2 separate regions of the Homo sapiens genome follow, and region 1 is linked to region 2. Evidence: promoter capture Hi-C in human tissues and cell types (Jung and others, 2019). All regions are on one chromosome and are shown on one strand. Each heading gives the region's core, a stretch centred on a gene start or on the middle of the fragment in contact. The rest is flanking DNA. Distances are from core to core; before and after follow the strand shown.

Region 1 (2,700 bases), core at 92-2,591, 570 kb before region 2:
TATGTTCTATGGATGACACTGGTTTTGATTAGGAAGCAATTGAGAACTCAATGCCTCTCACATTTTGTGCCTTAGTACTTCTCTATCTCTGCTGGGAGAGCAGCAGTAATAAGAAACAGGTTCATGCTCATCATAATGTACCATTTCTGACTCAGAAATGAATACTAACTTGAGACTATGAACAATGCTCTTCTACTGGAAGCCCAACACCACAGAGGGTCTTTCTAGAACGTGTGACAAAAATGACACATTTTGAAGAAGAAGAAAAAAATGTTAGAAACCAAATAATCCTAGAAGCTTGGAAGCGTTTCTTTTTTTACAAAGAACATCATGGGTTTTCCATGTTCTATCTTCAGTAGGATGATGACCAGGGTCATTTTTATAGTTGCCTAAGAAATATATTTTTCCTCTATCACTATATTGAAATAAAAACTTTCTGTAAGTTCACTTTCTGCTATTACCATGTTAATATCACAAACAACATTAGATATAATTCTTGGAATTCTAGAAACTGTAATCTGATTTTTTAACAAATAGGATATTCCAGGCACTATGGAAATTTCTGATACTTGACTCCAAAAGCTCCTTAATAAACAACTTGTTAACTTCAGTGTCAATGTTGAGGGGAAACTGTTGATAAGCTATTAAGGTTAAGTTTTGCAAGGGCTTCCACCTTAAGAGAGAAAAAATAATCAGAATTTCATTGAGAGTAGCCTCTATGCAGAGGTACTACTTAAGTGCCTTATTCAATTACAGTCTCAGTTCATGTGACTTTGGTACAAGCATAGTTGATATAGCACCCCCAGGCTTGTGAAAGTGAATTGAAAACATATGTCCAGATGTTGGGGATATTATCTTGTACATGATACTTAACTTTTCTATACCTCAGTTTCTTTAACTATAAAAACAGGGGTAATAATAGCACTACAACTTAGAGCTAGTGTGAGAAATAAATTAACTGATCCCTGCAAAGTGCTTGGAAGAGTTCCTGGCACATAATAAATGTATCACTTTTTAAAACATTTTTTTTCCGACTTTCAAGTGAAGTCCCTCTAATTCTTGAGAGAAACTGCTTTTAAGTTTCTCATTCTCGGAAAACATGCTGACAACTTCATGTCATTAAAGATATCCTCAAAACCGAAATACATGAAGTATTAGCCTGTGTTCACACTGCTACAAAGAACTGCCTGAGACTGGGTAATTTATAAAGAAAAGAGGTTTAATTGACTCATAGTTCCCCATGGCTGGGAGGCCTCAGGAAACTTACAATCATGGCGGAAGGCGAACGGGAAGCAAAGACCTTCTTCGTATTGTGGCTGGAAAGAGAGAGCTAGCAAGAACGGGGAAAACTGTCTCATAAAACCGTCAGATCTCTTGAGAACTCACTCACTATCACGAGAACAGCATGGCAGAAACTGTTCCCATGATCCAGTCACCTCCCACCAGGTCTCTCCCTCAACACCTGGGGATTACAATTCAGGATGAGATTTGGGTTGGGGACACAGCCAAACCATATCATTCCATCCCTGGCCCCTCCCAAATCTCATGTCCTTTATACATTTCAAAACACAATCATGCCTTCCCAACCATCCCCCAAAGTCTTAACTCATTCCAGCATTAACCCAAAAGTTCGAGTCCAAAGTTGCATCTGAGACAAAGCAAGTCCCTCCCACCTAGGAGCCTGTAATATCAAAAGCAAGTTAGTTACTTCTAAGACACAATGGGGTTTGCGGGCATTGGATAAATGTGCTCATTCCAAATGGGAGGAATTGGCCAAAACAAAGGGGCTACAGCCCCCATGTAAGTCCAAAATCCAGCTGGGCAGTCATTAAATCTTAGAGCTCCAAAGAGCTCTTACTCTCCTTTGACTCCATGTCTCACATCAAGGGCACACTGATGCAAAGGGCTGGCTTCCACAGCCTTGGGCAGCTCCACCCCTGTGGCTTTGAAGGTAACAACCCCACACCCCTTCCCTGGCCACTTTCACAGCTGGCAAGTGTCTGCGGCCTTTCCAGGCACACAGTGCAAGCTGTCAGTGGATCTACCATTCTGGGGTCTGGAAGACAGTGACCCTCTTCTCACAGCTCCATGAGGCAGTGTCCCAGTAGAGACTCTGTGTGGGAGCTCCACCCCACATTTCCCTTTGGCCCTGCCCTAGCAGGGGTTCTCCATGAGGGTCCTGCCCCTGCAGCAGACCTCTGCCGGGACATCCGGGCATTTCCATACATCCTCTGAAATCTAGGTGGAGGTTCCCAAATCTCAGGTCTTCTCTTCTGCACACCCACAGGCACAACACCACATGGAAGCTAACAAGACTTGGGGCTTGCACCCTCTGAAGTAATGGCCTGAGCTGTACGTTGGCCCCTTTTAGCCATGGCTGAGATGCCAGGCACCAAGTCTCAAGACTGCACAAAGCAGCAAGTCCCTGGGCCAAGCCCACAAAAACCATTTTTTCCTCATAGGCCTCCAGGCCTCTGAGGGGCAACCATGGGAGAGGCAACCATGAAGGCCTCTGACATGCCCTGGAGATATTTTCCCCATTGTCTTGGAGATTAACATTTGGCTCCTCATTACTTATGCAAATTTCTGCAGCTGGCTTGAATTTCTCCCCTGAAATAGAGTTTTTCTTTTCTACCACATTGTCAAGCTGCAAATTTTCCAAACTTTTATTCTCTGCTTCCCTTTTAAACATAGGTTTCA
Region 2 (2,700 bases), core at 171-2,670:
CTAGCTTTTTTTTTCACCCAAAAGTATGGAAAGGCTACAGTGGGTACAACTCGTTTAGGATAATACATATACTAAAAGCACATGCATGCCTTTCATTGAAATGCCTAGGGAGGAGTGAAGCCATCTGTGTAATCAATAACAGGATAGTTATAGATTTTTGTGGCAGTGAAGTCTTTTAAAAGCAAGAGTCAATTATGAAAATAAAATCATTTTACAAATGAAACTCTGTACCTGTACCCCCTAAGAATACATTCACAATTAGATTTACAACAGTAAGATTTTAAGAAAACTTTAGGTTTACATTTACTTGCCTTGTTTTTCATTAAGTTTGAAGCAATTTTAGTAGCTTATTTTAAAAGTATATCCTACTAAGTTCTACGACATGTAAGTTTGCACCATTTCTCACAACTTAGATATTTTCTCTCTCGTAACTAGTTAATTCTTGTAACGATAAAATAATGGTATTAAATACATGTGAATCTTAATTATGAAATAATTATCAAACAAGGTGCTTGGACTAGTTTTTGCCCTGCCCTGTTTTTAAACAGCATATCGAAATTACTAAAAAGAGATTTATAAACCCTCACCTTATATCCACTCCAACCCTCACTGGTGCACATATACAGCAACTGCTCTGATTCTTGGCAACAATGGGAGGGGAGGGGAAGAGAAAGGAGGATGACTTTAAAGGAGGAAAAAACCTGGAAAAATTAGGTCCTTTCCCAGATTCCCCTTTCGCTTCCCATTTGCCTTCAAGCCAAAGTAATTTTGTTACAGTTTGCACCTTCTACTACACAATGTTGATAGAATCATTTAAAAAAAAAAAAAGTGAACCTTTCTGAACCATTGCTACTCTCCCTCGCGTTATTCCAGCCATCTCCAGGAGAGTCCCTTCTATATAAACTCTTTTTCTTCTTTGCTACTGATAAGAGAGGAGGATAAAGAGGAACGGCTGTAAAATGTGTGCAAGCATTTGACTCCCATTATCTCCTCCTATTTTCTTACTTCTCTCTTTACCCTGTTTCTTTATCAAGTGCAGTGGTGGCTGCTACCGTTCGCCAAGCGTGCCTGTCTTCTCTCTCGGATTGGCTAAAGCACTGACAGCTCGGATAGCGATTGTAGGAACTGAAGCTCCACCCCCTCATGATGGCCCTGGGACCATTCATAAACTAAATAACTCCAGGAAACAGCGAGGGAGAGAGAGAAAGAAAGAGAGAGGGAGAGAGAGAGACAGAGAGAGTTAGAGGAAAGAAGAGAGAGCGAGCACGAGGAAGGGGGGCGGGGGAGAGAAGCAGGGGGAGAGCGGGGCGAGAAAGAGGTCGGAGGGGAGAGGAGGGGGAGAGACGACTCAGAAAGTGGAATCTGTAAAAGCAAGCTAGAGGAGAAGAAGGAAAACCCTGAATCGTTATAACTACACCCCAGATGCAACGCAAGCAACGACTTCGTCACACTAAAACGGATTTTGTGAGGGCCAAAAGTATAAATTACGAAGCAGAAATGATTATCAAACAACTTCCAGCGGTTTGCACCTAAAGAAACACAAGGAGAACCCACTACAAACAAACAAACCCAGTCCAAACAACGCCTCCAGTAGGAAAAGAGGAAAACTGCGATAACACGACCCCCCGAGAAGAGACGAGACCAACACGCTGAGACTGTGGGGCGTCAGCAAACCTCCAAGTGCACGGCGGACTGAGTTGTACTTCGCAGCTCTCTGGACATTAATTACCTCCTGCACCTTCCATTTGGGGGAGGGTGAGGAAGAAGGCACTCACCTACACTGAGCGAAGAAGTCCTATCAGCGTGGAAGAGAAGTTTAAGAATGAACCACTGAATGTTTCGCTTTTATTTTTAAATTTACTTTGGCACTTAAAAAACCTCATTTCCAGATTTCTGGACAATCTCGGCTGCAGACATCTAAGCCTAACCTTTTGGTATCCTGAGTTTTTTCCCTCTCCTTCTCCTTCCTCACGCCCACCCCGCTTCTCTCGCACACGGTCATCTTTACATATCAAGAGAAAGCAAAAAGGTTCCAAGAGGTACTTTTCTTTTTAGAAAATCACCTTTTCTCCCCTAATTCTTCTGCAGAAGAAAAGAGGTTTCGAAAGAGGGAAAAGGAAAAAACAAGCCGGCTACGGTATCAGCCGGTCAGCCCAGGTGGAAAACGAGAGTGAAAGTAGGGCTTAACGGGGAGCGCACCGCCTCTTTCGAAAGCCGCTGGGCCACCACCAGTGCGTGAGCCTTGGATCCCTCAACGTATTGCGAGACGCCGGTGTATAGCCCGGACCTGTGCCCCAACATGATCGCCGCTCAGGCCAAGCTGGTTTACCAGCTCAATAAGTACTACACTGAGCGCTGTCAGGCGCGCAAGGCGGCCATCGCCAAAACCATCCGAGAGGTCTGTAAGGTGGTCTCGGACGTGCTCAAGGAAGTGGAGGTGCAGGAGCCTCGCTTCATCAGCTCCTTGAGCGAGATCGATGCCCGCTACGAGGGGCTCGAGGTCATTTCGCCCACCGAATTTGAGGTGGTGCTCTACCTAAACCAGATGGGCGTCTTCAACTTCGTGGACGACGGCTCGCTGCCCGGCTGCGCAGTGCTCAAACTGAGCGATGGGCGGAAGCGGAGCATGTCTCTCTGGGTCGAGTTCATCACGGCGTCGGGCTATCTCTCAGCGCGTAAGATCCGCTCGCGTTTCCAGAC

Evidence for each region. The method cuts DNA at HindIII sites, captures the fragments that hold promoters and counts their contacts. A contact is called where the count stands out against the background at its distance.
Region 1: a fragment that was not itself captured here is called in contact with the fragment with the promoter of MAB21L2 in region 2 in 1 of the 25 tissues and cell types used here (IMR-90 fibroblasts).

What each region holds. Positions count from the first base shown.
Region 1 is chr4:150,013,337-150,016,036 of GRCh38, forward strand. No RefSeq gene overlaps it. Among named protein-coding and RNA genes, the nearest start is that of DCLK2, 64 kb to the right of the region's middle. The HindIII fragment of the contact is 4,199 bases long and covers 1-2,700 here.
Region 2 is chr4:150,580,731-150,583,430 of GRCh38, forward strand. MAB21L2 (mab-21 like 2) reads left to right here and starts at 1,421. Exons shown (of 1, transcript NM_006439.5): 1 at 1,421-2,700. The coding sequence starts at 2,300. The region is part of intron 40 of LRBA (LPS responsive beige-like anchor protein); the gene reads right to left. LRBA-AS1 (LRBA antisense RNA 1) reads left to right here. Exons shown (of 2, transcript NR_149035.1): 2 at 1-504. The HindIII fragment of the contact is 7,167 bases long and covers 1-2,700 here.